Regions from separate parts of the Homo sapiens genome. Here region 2 is linked to region 1. The links are contacts of gene promoters, found by promoter capture Hi-C in human tissues and cell types (Jung and others, 2019). All regions are on one chromosome and are shown on one strand. The core of a region is centred on a gene start or on the middle of the fragment in contact, and the rest is flanking DNA. Distances in the headings are between cores, read along the strand shown. Region 1 holds the start of MLXIPL (MLX interacting protein like). Region 2 overlaps LIMK1 (LIM domain kinase 1).

The links. Contacts are between HindIII fragments. The study calls those that stand out against the background at their distance.
Region 2: a contact is called between a fragment that was not itself captured here and the fragment with the promoter of MLXIPL in region 1, in 1 of the 25 tissues and cell types used here (dorsolateral prefrontal cortex).

The regions. Positions count from the first base shown.
Region 1 is chr7:73,621,140-73,626,580 of GRCh38, reverse strand. It overlaps MLXIPL (MLX interacting protein like), which reads left to right and starts at 2,059. Exons shown (of 17, transcript NM_032951.3): 1 at 2,059-2,381. The coding sequence starts at 2,089. The HindIII fragment of the contact is 21,137 bases long and covers 1-5,441 here.
Region 2 is chr7:74,119,359-74,124,750 of GRCh38, reverse strand. It overlaps LIMK1 (LIM domain kinase 1), which reads right to left. Exons shown (of 16, transcript NM_002314.4): 14 at 4,113-4,168; 15 at 3,702-3,859; 16 at 2,226-3,612. The coding sequence ends at 3,450. Among named protein-coding and RNA genes, the nearest start is that of LIMK1, 38 kb to the right of the region's middle. The HindIII fragment of the contact is 7,492 bases long and covers 187-5,392 here.

The sequences.
Region 1 (5,441 bases), core at 810-3,309:
AGGTGAGAAAAGAGGCTTCAGAAGCAGAAAGGCCATGTACAGTGGCTCACACTTGTAATCCCAAAACTTTGGGAGGCTGAAGCAGATTTCATCTCTACAAAAAAAAAAAAATTAGCCAGGTTTGGTGGCATGAGCCTGTAGTCCCAGCTACTAGGGAGGCTGAGGTGGGAGGATCGCTTTGGCCCAGGAGTTTGAGGCTGCAGTGAGCTATGACCGTGCCTCTGCACTCCAGCCTGGGTGACAGAGCGAGACCCTGTCTCTAAAAATATATAAATAGGCTGGGCACGGTGGCGCATGCCTGGAATCCCAGCACTTTGAGAGGCTGAGGTGGGCAAATCGCTTTAAGGTCAGGAGTTTGAGACCAGCCTGGCCAGCATGGAGAAACCTCGTCTCTACTAAAAATACAAAAATTAGCTGGGCATGGTGGCGGGCACTTGTAATCCCGGCTACTCAGGAGGCTAAGGCAGGAGAATCGCTTGAACCAGGGAGGCAGAGGTTGCAGTGAGCCGAGATCGTGCCATTGCACTCCAGCCTGGGTGACAGAGTGAGCCTCCGTCTCAAAACAATAAATAAATAGAAGTATATAGATAAATAAAAATACAAAGAAGCAGGAACAAAAGCTGGACCTCAGTGTCAGTGAGAGAAGGGGCTCAGAGCTCCTGGGTAGATGCCTGCCTAGGGGATGTCCACCTTCCAGTGAGCCACCCATCCCTACCAGTAACAGTCCCTCGAGGCTCCCCTTGGGCCTCTCTGTGCAGGTGAAGTAATGATCACAATTTTTTTAATATATATTTTTTCTTAAGTATTTTATTTTGTTTTTGAAACAGGATTTCACTGTTGCCCAGGGTGGAGTGCAGTAGGGCGCGATCTCGGCTCACTGCAACCTCCACCTCTTGGGCTCATGTGATTCTTCCACCTCAGCCTCCCGAGTAGCTGGGATTATAAGCCAAGCACGCATCGTCACATCCGGTAATTTTTGTATTTTTAGTAGAGAAGGGGTTTCTCCATGTTAGCCAGGCTGGTTTCGAACTCCTGGCCTCAAGTGACCCACCCACCATGGCCTCCCAAAGTGCTAGGATTGAAGGCGAGAGCCACCGCGCCCGGCCACCGTGTTGGCCACCATGTTAACTAGAGGTGTTAGCAACCTCCTGTGGGCCAGGCCCTTCAGGGGCATTACCTTGGGCTTACCACATCAGGCCCCTGAGAGTTGGGGGCTTCTACCTATGTGGAGGACCCAGAAGAGCTAATATGGGGGGCGGGGGTTGGAGGTGAAGGGCAGGAGTTAGGTGAGGGGAGATGGTGATCTCTGGCCTCACAGGAGGGTGCCCCTGAAAGAACAAACCCCAGGTCCTGAGGCGCTTTCAGGCTCAGGTGTGATAGGGGACCCTTTTGTTGTGGAGACAGGGTCTCACTCTGTCATCCAGGCTGGAGTGCAGTGGCGCGATCTCCGCTCACTGCAGCCTCAACCTCTTGGTCTCAAGCGATTCTCCCACTTCAGCCTTCGGAGTAGCTAGGACTACATGCACACGCCACCATGCCTGGATAATTTTTGTATGTTTGGTAGAGACAGGGTTTTGCCATATTGTCGAACTCCTGGGCTCAAGGAATCCTCCCACCTCAGCCTCCCCAGTAGCTGGTATTACAGGCTTTCTCCACTATGTCCGGCTAATTTTTGCATTTTTTTGGTAGAGATGGGGGTCTTGCCATATTGCTCAGGCTGGTCTCGAACTCCTGACCTCAAGCCATCCTCCCGCCTTGGCCTCCTAAAGTGCTAGGATTACAGGCAAGAGCCCCTGGCGTCCGGCCTGACCTTTCTTAATATCCCTTTGGAGCAAAGTAGGGGCGGCTCTATCAGGACTCCAAGGAAAGACGGGAAGGGAGATGGGGCCAACCCGCCAGAGCTCCAGAGCACCGGGTTCTCACCTGGCGTAAGGATTATGCTAATACAAGCCCCGCCCCGTCCCAGGCCCCGCCCACCCGATCGGCCTATGGTGTGGGGGCGGGGCTATGTTAATGAGGCCCGGCTGGCCAAGAGCTGTTCCCCGCGCTGCGCGGAGCAGGGACCAGGCGGTTGCGGCGGCGACAGCCATGGCCGGCGCGCTGGCAGGTCTGGCCGCGGGCTTGCAGGTCCCGCGGGTCGCGCCCAGCCCAGACTCGGACTCGGACACAGACTCGGAGGACCCGAGTCTCCGGCGCAGCGCGGGCGGCTTGCTCCGCTCGCAGGTCATCCACAGCGGTCACTTCATGGTGTCGTCGCCGCACAGCGACTCGCTGCCCCGGCGGCGCGACCAGGAGGGGTCCGTGGGGCCCTCCGACTTCGGGCCGCGCAGTATCGACCCCACACTCACACGCCTCTTCGAGTGCTTGAGCCTGGCCTACAGGTGAGGGCGGTTCCGGGCCCTGACGGCCTTGGCTTCCAGGTGGGGATGGGGGGGGGGTCCGGGGCAGGACTGCGCGCTGGGGCCCTCAACACCCCACCCGAGCCCGGTCCTGCGGCTCCCGGAGGCTCCGATCACGCCCTGGACACCCCCTTTCTCCCAGCCCCGAGGTCCTCCTACAGCGGCCCAGCCCGCTGGCCCCTGACGGACCCACGCATTTCTGATTCCCATTCCTCCCCCATTCCCTCTTCCCCGAAGCGCAGACCGCCTGCGCCCCACCTCTACCTGGACCTCTGGTCCCCTCTCTCTGGTCCCAGCCCCTCCGTCCCTACAAAAATGCCAGGCGCCCCTGGTCCCTAGGCCACCCGCGCCCATCCCCACTCTCCACTCTGGAGCCACTCCACCCGACCCCCTGCAGGCCTCGGCCTTCTCCCCAGCAGCCCCGGCCCAAGCCCGCCCTATTCCTGGACCCTGAGATACTCCCAGCGCCCCTGATTGTCCCAGTTCATAACCAAAGTGGACTGGAACTGGCCCACTCTCACGTCCACCTCCCCGCAATTGCTGAGACACCTCTTCTTGATCTGCTACATTAAGGGTGGCGGGAGGAGGATGTCCCAGAAATGTCCAAGAGGCGCAGCTCGCAGAGGTTACGCCGGTGCCCGGGAGGCCTGGGTTCGCCTACCCACGTCGCCACACTAGGCTGAGCGCCCGTCGCTGCCTGGGACCCCCGCTTAGTGCCACCGAGAGCGCACAGGCCGCGCCCCGCTGCCGCTCCACGCCCCGCGTCCCAGAGGAGGGCGCGAACCCGAGGCCTGGCCCAGTGCCCTGGAGCAAAGTTCCCCGGAGTTGAGGGGCCAGTATAAATTATCAACCGAAAACCCGTAGGGGAGAAAGGGGGATCGGCCGGCCTTGATCTTTTCTCTGTGCAAATATTCCTCTTCCTCCGCGGCGCCTCCTCCCCTTCTGAGAACCGCTGGCTACAGATCGGCACCTGCCGCCCTGCGGGGGAGCAGGAGCTGGGGTGGGGACTGTGAGGGGAGTGTTGCCTGCCCCCAACCGCAGCCGCCCAGCTGCGACCCCATTGGCTGGAGGCGGAGTAACCTTGGCCCACAAGCTCTGGCCCCTGGCCCAGGTCATGTTGCAACCCGATCGGCCAGGGCGTCGGACCCGTGTGGAAAGTTCAAATTCCCGTCCCTTCTCCCTCCCTCCCCAAATGTCACGCGACTGCCTGGGACAGGGCATCTAAGGTCCTGGTACACCGGATGCCGGCACTCCTCCTCCTAAGGGTCTCCCATTTCCCACCCAACCCCAACTTTGGCTGCTCATTATATACTACACATCACTCTATTTGGGAGGGGGCCTCACTTCCAACCCTGACGATGGGTGACCAAAGAGGAGAGGTTCTGGGGAGCTGGCAAGGTAAGGGACAGAGCGCACCCCCAAAATTGCCCCCCCACCCAGAGGCTGACTCAAGGCTGATGTAACCCCAGTCAGAGATAGCTGGGGTAGAGAGGACTGTGTTTTCTTCCCAAATACCCAAATATTAATAGTAAATCTCTGGCTGGGCACAGTGGCTCCTGCCTGTAAGCCCAGCACTTTAGGAGGCCAAGGTTCTCATCCAAGGATTGCTTGAGCCCAGGAGTTGGAGACCAGCCTGGGCAACATACTGAGAACCTGTCTCTACCAAAAAAAAAAAAATTTTTTTTTTTTTTTGAGACAGAGTTTTGCTCTTGTTGCCCAGGCTGGAGTGCAGTGGTGCCATCTCAGCTCACTGCAACCTCTGCCTTCCGGGTTCAAGAGAATCTCCTGCCTCAGCCTCCTGAGTAGCTGGGATTACAGGCGCCCACCACCTCCAGCTAATTTTTTGTATTTTTAGTAGAGACGAGATTTCACCATGTTGGCCAGGCTGGTCTCAAACTCCTGACCTCAGGTGATCCACCTGCCTTGGCCTCCCCAAGTGCTGGGATTACAGGCATGAGCCAACATGCCTGGCCAAAAAAAATTTTCTTTAATCAGCCAGGTGTGATGGCACATTCCTAGTACCAGCTACTGGGGAGTCTGAGGTGGGAGGATCACTTCAGCCCAGGAGGTTGAGGCTCCAGTAAGACATGATGGTGCCACTGCACTCCACCCTGGGTGATAGAGTGAGACCTTGTTGGAAGGAAGGGAGGGAGGGAGGGAGGGAGATGGGGGGAGGAAGGAAGGAAGGGAGGGAGGGAGATGGAAGGAGGGAGGGAGATAAAGGAGGGAGGGAGATGGAGAGAGGGAGATGGAGAGAGGGAGATGGAGGGAGGGAGGGAGATAGAGGGAAATGGAGGGAGGGAGATGGAGGAGGGAGGGAGAAGGAGGGAGGGAGGGAGATGGAGGGAGGGAGACGGAGGGAGATGGAGGGAGGGAGAGGGAAGGAGATGGAGGGAGGGAGGAAGGGAGAGAGGGAGGAAGGGAGGGAGGGAGGGAGATGGAGGGAGGGAGGGAGCTGGAGAGAGATGGAGGGAGGGAGGGAGATGGAGGGAGGGAGGGAGATGGAGGGAGATGGAGGGTTGGCTCGGTACCAGGAGAGCTTCTAGATTTCCCCATTTGGTAGTGGAAAAGCCCTGAGGCTTGAACTGGGACAGTGTTTTCATCCTCAAAGACCCCCAGTTCCAGGGGTCCCCTGGAGGGGAGCAGATTACAGGAGCTGAGTGTCCCAGGGGAGTGACTATATGGGAAGAGACAGTAAGGCAGAGAGTTCAGAAGGTGGTGGGAAGAACAGCGAGCTTGACCAGGGACCCACCTGAATCAGGGACCAGCCTGACCCAGAGACCAGCCTGCAGAGGCCTGGCAAGGTTTCACCCTCTGCAGGTTAGCGTGGGCAGAGGGAGGATCGAGGAGGCCGTCTTCCATGGCTCCGTGGGTGGAAGCCCCAGGGAGGTAGTTTCTGGAAGCTTCAAGGAAGCACTTGTTCATGGTCAGAGCTGGCTAGCTTTAGGAAGAGTGGCCTTGAGGGTGCAGGGGAGCAAACAGGACCTGGTTAGGGGGCAATCTAAAAGGAATTCCTGAAAGGTGGGAGGTGGGCAGCTGAAC
Region 2 (5,392 bases), core at 2,683-5,182, 500 kb before region 1:
GTTCAAATGATTCTTCTGTCACAGCCTCCCGAGTAGCTGGGATTACAGGTGCCTGCCACCACACCTGGCTAATTTTTGTATTTTTAGTAGAGATGGGGTTTCACCATGTTGGCCAGGCTGGTCTTGAACTCCTGACCTCAGGTGATCCGCCTGCCTCGGCCTCCCAAAGTGTCAGGATTACAGGCGTGAGCCACTGCGCCTGGCCTCTCACATTTTTTTTCTTTAAATTAACTTGGTGTAGTGGCGTGTATCTATAGTCAGCTACCTGAGAAGCTGAGGTGGGAGGATTACTCAACCCTGGGATGTTGAGGCTGCAGTGAGCCATGACTGTGCCACTGCTGTCCAGCCTGGGTGACAGAGTGAGACCTGTCTCAAAACAACAACAAAACAGAAACAAAAAACCAAATTAAATGCCCTGTATTTGCAATACCTAGTGTGTTTTTAAAATGTTTTATTTATTTTTGAGACAAGGTCTTGCTGTGTCACCCAGGCTGGAGTGCAGTGGCACGATCACAGCTCACTGCAGCCTTGACCTCCCAGGCTCAAGCGGTCCTCCTGCCTCAGCCTCTCAGTAGCTGGTACTACAGGCACACACCACAGCATCTGGGTAATTTTTTTATTTTTTGGGTAAAAACAGGGTCTTGCTATGTTGCCCAGGCAGATCTTGAACTCCTGGCCTCAAGTGATCCTTCCACCTCGGCCTCCTGAAGCGCTGGGAGTCTAGGTGTGAGCCATCACGTGCAGCCCATCTTCTCGATAGAACCCTTTAGTTTAGTTTAGTTTAGTTTTGTTTGAGATGGAGTTTTGCTCTTGTTGCCCAGGCTGAAGTGTAATGGCACGATCTCAGCTCACCACAACTTCCGCCTCCCAGGTTCAAGCAATTCTCCTACCTCAGCCTCCCGAGTAGCTGGGATTACAGGCATGTGTCACCACACCTGGCTAATTTTTTGTATTTTTAGTAGACGGGGTTTCTCCATGTTGGTCAGGTTGGTCTTGAACCCCCGACCTCAGATGATCCGCCCACCTTGGCCTCCCAAAGTGCTGGGATTACAGGTGTGAGTTTTACAAGAAAACATTTAAGTATGAAAGCAGTACCTCCGGAATATGCACGGCCCTCCAAACCCAGCCTCTGAAGACTCTTCACTTGTCCTGGCTGGGCCACCACCTCAGCTCCACCTAAAACTGGGCTGTGTTCTCTTCCCCCCTCCATCCCTGCCTTTTTTTTTTTTTTTTTTTTTTTGAGACAGAGTCTTGTTTTGTTGCCCAGGCTGGAGTGCAGTGGTGCAAACATGGCTCACTGCAGCCTTGATCTCTTGGGCTCAAAGGATCCTCCCACCTCAGCCTCCTGAGTAGCTGGGACTATAGGTGCATGCCACCATGCCCAACTAATTTTTTTTTTTTTTTTTGAGATGGAGTTTCGCTCTTGTTGCCCAGGCTGGGGTGCAATGGTGCAATCTCGGCTCACTGCAACCTCTGCCTCCTGGGTTCAAGCAATTCTCCTGCCTCAACCCCCCAAGTAGCTGGGATTTCAGGCATGTGCCATCACACCTGGCTAATTTTGTATTGTTAGTAGAGATGGGGTTTCACTATGTCAGTCAGGCTGTTCTCAAACTCCTGACCTCAGGAGATCCTCCTGCCTCGGCCTCCCAGAGGGCTGGGATTACAGGTGTGAGCCACTGTGCCTGGCCTGCCAATTTTTTTTTTTTTTTTTTTTGGAGACAAAGTCTCGCTCTTTCCCAGGCTGGAGTGGAATGGCACCACCTCGGCTCACTGCAACCTCTGCCTTTCGGGTTCAAGCGATTCTCCTGCCTCAGTCTCCCAAGTAGCTAGGACTACAGGCATGTGCCACCACGCCCGGCTAATTTTTGTATTTTTAGTAGAGACGAGTTTTCACCATGTTGGCCAGACTGGTCTTGAACTCCTAACTTCAGGTGATCCACCCGCCTCTGCCTCCCAAAGTGCTGGGATTACAGGCATGAGCCACCACACCTGGCCTCTGCCCAACTAATTAAAAAAAAATTTTTGTAGAGACAGGATCTCACTATGTTGTCCAGACTGGTCTTGAACTCCTGGGCTTAAGGGATCGTCCTGTCTCAGCCTCCCAGAGTGCTGGGATCACAGGCATGAGCCACCACACTCATCCTTGTCTTCTGGTCAGGGAAGACTAACTCCTCTTACCTTGACTATTTCCCCAGGGCCCCAGACACACATCGCCACGCAGGACCTGGGTGGGGAGTACGGAATTTATTTTATTGTTCTGCGTCTGGGTTTGGTTCCTTGGACGTCACGGTTCCTGGATGGGGGTGGGTGGGTCCCACCTCCCTAAGTCATGGTCCCACGGGCCTGTTGGGATTGTTTTCCAGGTTCAAAGTGCACTGAGAAAGCTTCACAGTTTTAATACTTCCTAGATGCTCAACTGAGGCAAAGTGACAAAATGGCCCTCCCACCCCCGCCCGCCACAAAAATAAAATCCCAAGCCCCTGGCAGCTGCTGCTGCAGCCGTATGAAAAAATAATACAAACTCTTCTTAAAAAATAGATTACACAGAAAAAACGCAGAGGACAGAGGGGCATGAGGAGGGGCAGGGAGCCTTGGGGGAGAGGCCCGGGAAGGGGCTCTGAGATGACTGCAGGGGCTGAGCTGCTGGTGGACACCTGCCCGGTCCACTGTGCCTATCCTCTCACTGCCGGAGCCGGCTCCTCCCCATCGCCGGCCAGGGCACCGCAGCTCCACGCTCCCTCAAGGGACCCCCTTCACCCTGAGGCTTGGTACCTGCTTCTCACTAAAGTGGCTTTAAGAAAGAAACAAAAAAAAGACCCAAAGCGAGAGAAGGGGCTGTTTGCTCAGCCACTGGGGACCTCCGCCCCATGGGATCAGCCCTCTCTCTGCTTTGGGGGTTTGGAGAGTCCTCGATACCTGTTGCTACCTAGACACCCCCTGGGGGGAAAACGGGCCCCAGACTCCCCATTTGGTTCCTGGGAACACAGACACCTGGAACTTGGCCTCTGCCCTGATGTGCGCCCTCCCACGCACCCAAGCGTTATATGGGGCATGGTTCGGAGGCTGCCTCCTGGCCCAGCCTCCAGGGAGCTATGGACCAGACAGGTGGAGCGTGAACAGGGTTGCTGGGGCAGCGGCGTGTGGAAAGGGGCGTAACTCACACAGGCCCTCCAGCTCATGCAAGGAGAAGCAAGAGGGGACAGCCCTGCCAAGACAGAGGTTACAGCAGGGCGAGAGCATGGTGTGTGTGTGCAGCTGGGCCGGCTCTGGGCCACGGCAGAGAGAAGGCAGGGGAAGCGGTCCACGGGGTGGGAGAAGGCAAGTCAGGGCCTGGCTCTGAGGAGAAGCCTGGGTCCCCACTGTCCCAGCTGAGGGCCACCTCCCGCGGAGGAATCTGGTGGGGGTGGATTCTCCAGAGGTGGGGACAGGGGCAGCTGAGTGGCCCTGGCTCAGTCGGGGACCTCAGGGTGGGCAGGCAGTCCGCTCTCGCCGCGCCGGTAGGTCTCCCAGAAACCTCTGTCCAGCTGCTCCAGCTGTGGGCCCAGTGGCAGGTGGCCGGCCAGGTGCATGCGGAGGGTCTCCAGCCAGTGTTCCAGCTTCACAAAGGATGGCCTGGGTGACAGGTGGGTGGGGAACGGTGGGTCTGGCTGTCCCGGGAATCGGCCCCACCGTCTCCCAGGCCAGGGCCCCACCCCACTCACCTCTTCTCGGGGTCCAGATCGCAACAGCGCACGGTGATGGGGAAGAAGCTCGGGGGGCAGTTTGGGGGGCAGTAGCGGTCCAGGAATCCTCGCACGTTGAGGCCAAAGTCCATGGTGCGGGGCAGGTAGTCAGGGTCTGCGTTCACCCGCCCGATGATCTGTCCAGTACAAGGCCCGGCAGTTACTCCAGGGGGCCCTCAGCCTGGGCATCTGGGTGCCATCCAGGTGGTTTGAGGGCAGGTGGCACTGGGCCTGGCTGCAGCCTGACTGCAGTACCCCATGGGGGCCAGCCCATGCCTTGCTGTGGGCAGGCTTCCTGGCATGAGGCCCCTGCAGATGCTGAGCCTGCAGCCTGGGTGAGTGGGGAGGAGCCCAGGCCTCAACACCGCTGCTACCCAACCCTGGACCTACCTCGCACAGGACGATCCCAAAGGAGAACACATCCACCTTCTCATCATAGCTGCGGCCTGGATAAAGAGACCGACTGTCAGCAGATGAACACATGGGGGTGCCAGGGATGCCAAAAGGCAGGGGACCAGGCCAGCTGGGAGGATGCCCCGGCCGGGAGGTCCAGGCCCAGGAGGCAGATGCCGGCAACCTCTATGGGAACCCAGGCTTAGGCTCTTTCCCCCAACCCCACCAGGTCTGAGCAAGCCTTTGGGAGCTCTGAGGAGCAAGGGGCAGAGCCCTGGACAAGGAGTTCGAGGCACCGATCAGCTGCGTGACTTTGCACAAGTCATGAACTCTGTGCTGGTCCCAAAAGGGAACCATGTCAGGTCTCTGGAATCTGTGAATGTTACTGGGTCAGAAAAAGGGTCTTTTGCAGATGGGATTAAGTTAAGGATCTGGAGATGAGATGATGCTGGATGATCTGGGTGGGCCCCAAATGCCACTGCAAATGCCCTCTTGAGAGAGACACAGAGAAGACACAGCAGAAGAGGAGGAGGTGGCCCTGTGAAGACAGGGGTGGAGACTGGAGTGATGCGGCCACAAGCCCAGGAATGCAAAACAACCAGAAGGTGGAAGAGGCAAGGAATGCATTCTCCCCTAGATCGCCCTGGAGGGAGCGCAGCCCTGTTGGATTTCAACCTTCTGGCTTCCAAAACTAAGAGGGAATAAATTTCTGCTGTTTATTTTATCTTGAGATGGAGTCTTGCTTTGTTGTCCAGGCAAGAGTGCAGTGGTACGATTGTGGCTCACTGCAACCTCTGCCTCCTGGGTTCAAGCGATTCTCCTGCCTCAATTTCCCGAGTAGCTGGGATTACAGGCGCCTGCCACCATGCCCAGCTAATTTTTGTACTTTTAGTAGAGATGGTGTTTCACCATGTTGGCCAGGCTGGTCTCGAACTCCTGACCTCCAGTGATCTGCCCGCCTCGGCCTCCCAAAGTGCTGGGATTACAGGTGTGAGCCACTGTGCCTGACCATTTTCTGCTGTTTTAAATAATCAAGTTTCTAACAATTTATTACAGCAACCTCAGGAAACTGACACAGACTCTCTGAGCCTCAGTTTCCTTATTGTAAAATGGGAATGATACCAGCTACTTAATGATGTTAAAAATAATCGGTACATGGCCGGGCACAGTGGTTCACACCTGTAATCCCAGCACTTTGGGAGGCCGAGGCGGGTGGATCACCTGAGGTCAGGAGTTCAAGATCAGCCTGGCCAACATGGTGAAACCCCATCTCTACT